2 separate regions of the Homo sapiens genome follow, and region 1 is linked to region 2. The links are contacts of gene promoters, found by promoter capture Hi-C in human tissues and cell types (Jung and others, 2019). All regions are on one chromosome and are shown on one strand. The core of a region is centred on a gene start or on the middle of the fragment in contact, and the rest is flanking DNA. Distances in the headings are between cores, read along the strand shown.

Region 1 (4,885 bases), core at 412-2,911, 410 kb after region 2:
ATTTTCTGACTCCTTGTACTATTATTTATTGAGAGATGAGAAATATCCTATTATAACTGTAGATTTGTTCATTAATCCTTGCAGTTATCTCAGTTTTGTTTCATGTATCTTGAAACTCTGTTATAATAATAACAGGTGAATAAATGTTTGTGTTTGTATGTCTTCTTGATTCTTAGACTCATTTATCATAATGAAATGATCTTTTTCTTCCCCCTAATTTTGGTCTGAAATCTACTTTATCTGATATTAATATAGCCACTGTAACTTTCTTTTGCTAAATATTAGCCTTGGTATATCTTTTTCCTCTTTCCTTTTTCTAATGACTGTATCTATTTCCTTTATAAACTTATTAGCTATATTCTTTGTTTTGTTATTTTAGTAATTGCTCTAGGGTTTGGTATGTATTTTTAACTTATCATAGTCTATCTTCAGGTAGTATCATACCACATGTACTATAAGAACCTTATAAATATACACCTCTGCTTTTTCTCTCCTGGCCTTTATGCTATTGTTTCATACCTTTCATTTATACGTATGTCTTAAAATCCACACTGCAATGTTATCATTTTTGCTAAAATAGTAAGTTAACTTTTAAACAGATTTAAATAAAAATATATATTTACACATGTAGATAAAATTTCCTGTGTTCTTCACTTCTTTGTGTAGATTCATATTTCCACCAGGCATCATTTTCATTCTACCTGATGGGCTTTTTTTTTTTTTTTCTTTTTTAGTATTTCTTACAGTGTAGGTCTGCTGCTGATTAATTCTTTCAGCTTTCATCTGTAGGAAAAGTCTTTATTTTGCCTTAGTTTTCGAAAGACATTTCACTAGACATAAAATTCTAGTTTAACTTTTTTTAAAAAATTACTTTATTCTCTTCCACTCTTCTAGTTTGCATTGTTTCTGATGAGAAATTTGTATCATCACCTTTGCTCCTTACATAATGGGTGTTTTTTCTCTGTCTTTTAAGATTTTTACTTTATCACTGTTTTTGATCAATTTGAATATGATGTACCATGGTATAGTGTGTAGCTTCCTTGCTTTCTTTTTTTTTTTTCTTCTTTTTCTTTCTCTTTCTGTCTTCCTTTTTTTCTCTCTTTGTCTTTCTTTCCTTTTCTCTTTCTTTCTTTCTTTTTCTCTTCTTTCTTTCATTCTTTCTTTTTGTACTTCGGGTTCTTTGAGATACTTGAATGTCTGGGTTTATAGTTTTCATCAAATTTGAAAGTTTTCTGACCATTATTTCCTTAAATATATTATTGTTCTCCCTTCCTTTTTCCTCTTCTTTTGGGGCTTCCATTACATGTTAGCTACTTGAAGTTTTCCTGTAGCTCACTGATGGTCATTTCATTTTTAACATCTTTTTCTCTCTCTTTACTTCATTTTGTATAGTTTCTATTGCTACATCTTTAAGTTCACTAATATTTTTAATAATTTTTTCTCTAATGTCTAATCTTTTATTAATTGAATCTAGTATATTTTTTTATTACAGACGTTGTAGTTCTCATCTCAAGATATTCAATTTAGATAGTTTTTATATCTTTGATTATTTAAGGTATTTTTATATCTTTTCAACATATGGAATACAGGAATGACAAATATTAATATCCATGTCTGCTGATTCTAATAACTATGTTAGTTCTAGGTAAGTTTCAATTGATTAATCTTTTTACTCATTATTTTTATTTTCCTACTTCTTTGCATGACTGGTAATCTTTTGTTTGGTTCAAGACATTGTCAGTTTTACCTTGTTGGGTGCTAGCTATTTTTCTTTTCCTATAAATATTTTTGAGCTTTGTTCTGAGATACACTTAAGTTACTTGAAAATAGGCTTATCTTTTTGAGCCTTGATTTTGGAATTTGTGACATAACCAAAGCAATGGTTAGTCAAGGACTAATTATTCAATGATTAGTCAGGGACTAATTATTTCCTGCTACTAATGCAAGAATCTTCTGAATACTCTACCAAATGCTCTGGGAATTGTAAAGGTTTCCAGTCTGATTGATGGGAACAGGCACTATGCCTGGTCTGGTGTTTTTGCATAGTTCTTTCCCTGGTGTTTTATCCCATTTTGTGCTGCCATATCAGAATACTACAGACTGGGTAATTTATAAATAATAGAAATTTATTTCACAGTTCTGGAGGCTGGGAAATATAAGGTCAAGGTGCCAACAGGTTTGGTGTTGGTAATGGCCTGGTGTTCACTTCCAAGATGGCTGTTAAACATGACGTCCTTTGAAGGGGAGAAAAACTGTTCCTCACATGATAGAAGAGTGGAAGGGCCAAGCAAGGGAGAACCCACTCCTGGAAGCCCTTTTATAAAGGCATTAAACCCGCCCATGCAGATGGAGCCCTTGTGACATAATCGCCTCTTAAAGGCTGTACCTTCCAAAACCATTTTGTTGGCAATTAAATTTTAACATGTGTTTTGGAAGGGACAAACAGTCAAATCATAGCTTCTGGCTCATGTAGTTTCCTCACTTATATGTGCTGATCACCTTGAGGGAGACTGTCTGCTGGTCTCCATGATTCTTCTTCTATGCAGCTCACTCCTTTCTGATACCTCGTCATACAAATTCTAGTTTCCTTGCTCTTCTTGCAGTCTGAGCTTCACCTCCTCAAGTAGGAGTCCTCTAGGATTTGTCCAGTCCCTCCCCTGCCACATGCTGTGGCCTGAGGACTCTCAAGGCAGTCAACTGGGGAAATCATAGGTCTTGCCTCAATTTTTTTCTCATCTCTTAGAGATCACTGTCCTTGGTTGCCTGATATCCTGTCTCTTGAAAACTATTGTTATTCTATTTATTTGTTTATTTTGGGTTTAGAAGGAAACATAAATTAAGTCCCTGTTACTTACTCTGTTTTTGTCAAAAGGGCAAGTCCCAGCAAAGTTTCAACTATTATTCCATTTTGTAGATGAGGAAACTGAGGCACCAAGAGATTAAGTTAGTTGTCCAAGCTTTCACAGCTTGTTAGTCATAGAGCTAGAATTCAAATATTAGCTCTTGAATACTTGAGCAGTATAACTTCAGAATTTACAATTTTAACTACTACTATCTACTTTCATATTACTTCTAAGCTTGCTAAGAACTGGGCAAACATTTCATTAAATGTTTATGTAGCTCATATGAGCAGAATGTGGATGACTAATGGTCCTTAACTCCACATCCCCATGATATTTGCATTTTCAAAAGAATATGCTTATTTATTCAGTATGCTTGTTTATCACATACTATTAAATATATGATAGAAATATGTATTCTAACAAAGAAAAATGAGAAATATTTATGAAGTGTAGCAGAAGCTGTTTTTAGTTATTAACTCTTCCAGTTTCCCTCTACCTTGGAATTTTCTGGCTTGGTTTTCCTAAGTTATTCTTAATTTTTGCCAATTTCTCTTAATCCATTCTCAGACTATTACCAATGGATTAAAAGTTTCCCTTTTTTAAACCTTTGTATCCATTCATCAAAGACTGGGAAAATGGTGGTTATTTGTATGTAAATCACTTAAAAATGAAGAGCTACAAGTAATTTAACAGCTTGCATTTTCCTTTGGGAAGCATTCAGAGATCTTTTCCAATAGCTTTCGGATTCCAATTTGTTCTTTTTTGTTAGAACTTTTGTCTGTCCCTGAGTGCATAACTATTAGGTAGGCAGGAGAGATATGTGGGAAAGTACTTTTTTTTTTTTTTTTTTTTTTACTGCTGCATTACAGGTAACTAGAAACAGTGCTGGAGATGGTGGCTGAATATTGTTGAATGAATGAGTGGATGGATGGATGAATCAAGCTGGTGGCCAGCTAGAGGAGCCTAAGGGAGACTAGACTAGACTGGGCAAACATACGCTGTAGACAGCATATTCAGACTGAAGTGAATACCCAGCACCCAGGCAATTGAGTCTTGACTATATTGTGTTCTGGCTTTGGGATATGGTTATGTTCTACTTACATTTGAATACAGTTGCATTTTGATTTCATCTAAAATAAGGAAATCATACTGATGACTCAGAAGATACAAGAAAATTGAGTTTCTCCTGTCTTTTACTTATGCTGTCTTCACTGGAACATTTTAAATATGTATTTCAATGAAGAGGCAATTCCATTTAAGTGAACTAGTATTTCAAGCATTTTTAAAAAACAAAAACACATAAAAAGCATTAACTAGAACTGCCAGGCAAAATAGCCCTCCTGTTTAATAGTTTCCATCAGTCCTCAGTTTAATTACCACATTATTCTGCCAGCTTTCTCCAGAAATAATTGACTGAATGAAGTCATTTCATTTGATATTTACAAACACTAGACTTGTAAAGGGGGTATCTGTCAATTCCCCCTTGGCTTGGAAATGACTAAGGCTGACCTGGCAGTACACAACTGCTATTTTGGGCTCAGCATATTTTCATAGTCACCAACTCAGTAAGATGATGGGAAAGAAAGAGAGGCAGGTAAAACTTTTGGCATTTGTGCTCAGTTTTCTAATTTTGTAATTTTTGCTGTGAAAAAATGAGGGAGTAAAACCCTGATTTGCTCTAAGACACAAACAGGTTGGAAGTGATGTTTTTGTGTGTGGTTGTTAGAATATCCTGTTAAATTCTGAATAGTCTAGAAGGAATCTGCAAAGCTTTGGGTAGCTATAGTGAAAGCTTAAACTGGCTTATCAATCATGATAAAAATGAATTACAAAGGTCAGTCTGTTAATGTTATTGATTTAATGTTCTGGAATCAAGTGTTCTTCATTTAGATTAAATAATAAAATATTATTTTGAAGGCATAATGTCAAATGGATAGGAGATAAGATGAAGATTAGGCTGGAAATTATTTTATCTCAGGCAGCCAACAGGAAATTTCAAAAGACAAGGCTAATATAAGTGAAGTTTTTAAAGAATTGAAGTA
Region 2 (4,249 bases), core at 1,389-3,888:
GGTCTCCTTGTGCTTCTGAGTCAACAGGCTAAGAAGGGAGTTATGGTGCTGGTTGGACTGACTGATCCACACTACCAAAGAGAACTTGGGCTACTATTCCATAATGGAGGCAAGGAAGAGTATGTCTGCAATACAAAAGATCCCTTAGTGTGTCTCTTAGTATTACTGTGTCCTGTGATTAAGATCAATGGAAAACTACAACCACCCAGTGCAGGTAGGACTACTAGTGACCCAGACCTTTATGGATCACTTTAGCAGGTAAAGAACCACAAGCAGCTGAGGTGCTTACTGAAGGCAAAGAAACTACAGAATGTGTAGTAGAAAAAGGGAGTTAAAAATACTGATTATGGGCCGGGCGCGGTGGCTCACGCCTGTAATCCCAGCACTTTGGGAGGCCGAGGCGGGCGGATCACGAGGTCAGGAGATCGAGACCATCCCGGCTAAAACGGTGAAACCCCGTCTCTACTAAAAATACAAAAAAAATTAGCCGGGCGTAGTGGCGGGCGCCTGTAGTCCCAGCTACTTGGGAGGCTGAGGCAGGAGAATGGCGTGAACCCGGGAGGCGGAGCTTGCAGTGAGCCGAGATCCCGCCACTGCACTCCAGCCTGGGCGACAGAGCGAGACTCCGTCTCAAAAAAAAAAAAAAAAAAAAAAAATACTGATTATGATGCTGTGATCAGTGCAGAAATGAAGACTGTAATAATTATGAGTATTTCCTTTTAATTTTGTTCTGAATACATTTCTTTGTGTATATATTAGATACCAAATATTTTTTCTTTTCTTATTCTCTTATCACATAATACAAAATGCAATGACTTCATATTCTAGTATTTAAGTATTGTTAATGTTACATCATAGTGTTTAAGTTACAGGACATCAAGGAAGAGAGTAAACATCACTGAAGGACTTTATCTCCTCCTCTGAGAAGGGTTTAGTGCATTTTCAGTTGTATGCAGGACATATGTTGGAACAGGAATTAAAAGAAATTAAAGAATGTGTAAGCAGAAACTCAGTTGTATGTAAGAAAACCCAATTCCCCAGAGAAAGAGAAAGAGCTGGAGTCCTTTAAAATTAACTGCCTGTTTTTCTGTGGCTAGTGAGCCTTATCTCTCCTCCTTTCCCAGGCATTGTGAAGACCCTGTTTCTCTAGCTGTGCAGCTGCAAGGTCACTAGACAGATAAACTCAAGTCATAAAACATGTTTTTCCTTGAAAAGTAAGAAATGATGTAATGCATGTTTCAATTAATTGAATAACTGTCTTTGTTTCTCACTTCTGTAATATGCTTCCCCCTACACAGATCTCCCCCACCCCACGAAATGATTAAAAGATAACTCTTTGTTCAGGGCTCAGTCCTTTGGAGGTTAATCCAACTGGGCCGGTGCACCTAAATAATAAATATCCTTCTCAACCCCATCGGTCTCTCTGATTCCTTATCAATCCCACTACATTTCAACATGTTAAATGGAATTATGAGCTTCTTATTGACTTTATTTGGAGATTAACTATGGCTTAAGGATATGTATATGGGTGCCAAATTTTCAACGTGGGAACTCATTATGGTTAGTTAATATTACGTGTCAAACTGAGTGAGCCATAGGATGCCCAGATATCTGGTAAACATTATTTTGGGGTATGTCTGTGAGGGTATTTCCAGAAGAGATTAGCATTTAAATTGGTGTTCTGATGATAGGAGATGACACTCCCTAATGTGGGTCAACATCTTCCAATCCATTGAGGGCCTGAATAAAACAAGAAGGCAGAAGAATGCTTAGTTTTCTCTTTGCCTGACTACTTGACTTGGGACACAAATCTGCTGCCCTCGGTGCTCTGGTTCTCAGATCCTCAGAACCAGGCTGGAATTTTTATCATCAACTCTCTTGCTCTCAGGCCTTCAAACTGCACCATTGGATCTCCTGGGTCTCTGTCTTGCAGAAAGCAGAATCCAGGACTTCCTAGCTTCTATTATTGTGTAAACCAATACCTTATAATAAATATATTTATCTATATAGTTGTGGTTTCTCTCATCCTTACTAATAAGATAATCCTTACTAGTAAGGCATGAAGTTAGGAGATTAATGAATAAAGACAAATTCTTCCAATTGCCAACTTTGGCAAGATTTCTGGATGAGGGCCCATAGTAATGTAATTTTCTTTTTCTTTTCTTTTTTTTTTTTTTTTTTTTTTTTTTGTCTCACTCTGTTGCCAGGCTGGAGTGCAGTAGCATGATCTCGGCTCACTGCAACCTCCACCTCCCGAGTTCAAGTGATTCTCCTGCCTCAGCCTCCTGAGTAGCTGGGATTACAGGCACCCGCCACCACACCCAGCTAATTTTTGTATTTTTAGTAGAGATGGGGTTTCACCAAGTTGCCTAGGGTGGTCTCGACCTCCTGACCTCATGATCCGCCCACAGCCTCCCAAAGTGCTGGGATTACAGGTGTGAGCCACCATACCTGGGCCATAACGTAATTTTCTAATGTATTCATGGTTCTTTTTCTTAACAGAACAAAAATTAAGAAAAGTAGTCAGGATTAGAAAAAAAGACAAGCTTTTGAATGACAGAAATATTAATAGGAATTCACTTACATATTTGTAACTTCTCTGTAATCACGGTGAGACAAAGTAGTGAAGAGAAACTCTAGTATATTACCTCTTAGCCAAAGGTAAAATACTCTAGGTAGTTATCAACCAAGCAAATTCTTTGAAATGTTGACACTCGTCATGGCAACCATATGTTTCAAAGATTCCATTCTGGAATGAATGTGGTAGAATGTCCTGGCATGCCCAAGTGGCTACTAATGCTCACCTGTCATTATTGAGGGGTGGGTAAGTTTCTGGTTTCTATGTTACAAGCACTGAAAGATAGTTCTTCAGACCAACAGTCCAGTAGAAGCTGGGCAAAGGATAAGAATAGAAAATTCACAGAAAAGGAAAACTGAATGGCCAATAAATATTTTAAAAGATTTTTAATCTCACTTGAAGTTATGAAAATACAAACCATTAAAATATTATTTCCCAGCTAATAAGTTAAAAAGTACTAAAATACAAGTAAAAATTAAAAAAAGATAATTTCAAATATTGGCAAAGATAAAAGAAAGTTGAACTTTCTCACACGACTGGTGGGATTATAAATGGATATAACTAGTTTGTAGAGAAACTTGTCAAGTTCTAGCAAAACTGAAAATCTACAACCCAGAATTTCCAGTTCTAGGTCCATAGAGTGTATAAACATGTATACAACTGATGCACTGAGAGACATGAAGGATGTTTATTGTAGCACTTTTTATAATAGAGTTATTAAAATATAATTCACATACCATAAAATTTATCTTAAAGTATATAATTCAATCATTTTAAATATATTTACAGAGGTATACAACCATCATTACTATCTAATTTTAGAACATTTTCATTTAGAACAAGCTCCAAAGAAACCCTGTACCTGTTAGCAGACATTCACCCTCCCTCTCCCCCAAGTACCTGGCAACCACTAATCTTCTGTCTGCCTTCTGGACATTTTATGTAAATAGATTTATACAATATGTGACTTTTTATGATTAGACTGTTTGGATTTTTATTACTGAGTTGTGATTTTTTAATATGTTCTAGATGCTAGTCTCTTATCAGATACATAATTTGCAAATATTCCTCCTTTTCTATGGGCTGCCTTTACATTTTCTTGACAGTGTCTCTTGAAGCACAAAAGTTTTAAATTTAAGTGAAATTTAAATTTGCCATTCTTTTTCTTTTATTGCTTGTGTTTTTGGTATCATAACTAAAAAAAAAGAAAAAGACATTGCCTGCATTCCCTGGCCCAACTTCACAGAGATTAGATTTAGAACTTTTCTAAGAGTTTTGTAGTTTTTGCCTTACATTTAGGTCTTTGGTTCATTCTGAATTAGTTTTAGTATATAGTGTGAGGTAGAGGTCTAATTTTATCTTATTTTTTGCATCTGGATATTCACTTGTCTCAGTACAATTTGTTAAAAAGATGATTCTTTTCCTGATTGTCTCCACATCTTTGTAAAAAATGAATTGACTAAAATGGTTTATTTCTGAACTCAATTTTATCCCATTAATCTATATGTTTTTCCTATACTGGTAGCACACTGTGGTGATTTCTGTGTCTTTGTAGTAAGTTTTGAAATCAAGAAGTGTGAATTTTCAAACTTTGTTTGTTCTAGGGTCACAATTATAACATTAGCCTAAAACAATGTAGTTTGAATTAATATCAATTTAGTTTCAATAACA

Evidence for each region. The method cuts DNA at HindIII sites, captures the fragments that hold promoters and counts their contacts. A contact is called where the count stands out against the background at its distance.
Region 1: a contact is called between a fragment that was not itself captured here and the fragment with the promoter of MROH9 in region 2, in 2 of the 25 tissues and cell types used here (aorta and hippocampus).

Annotation. Positions count from the first base shown.
Region 1 is chr1:170,520,249-170,525,133 of GRCh38, reverse strand. The region is part of intron 1 of GORAB-AS1 (GORAB antisense RNA 1); the gene reads left to right. Among named protein-coding and RNA genes, the nearest start is that of GORAB, 9.5 kb to the left of the region's middle. The HindIII fragment of the contact is 7,437 bases long and covers 1-4,885 here.
Region 2 is chr1:170,933,923-170,938,171 of GRCh38, reverse strand. It overlaps MROH9 (maestro heat like repeat family member 9), which reads right to left and starts at 2,638. Exons shown (of 22, transcript NM_001163629.2): 1 at 2,585-2,638. The HindIII fragment of the contact is 10,538 bases long and covers 24-4,249 here.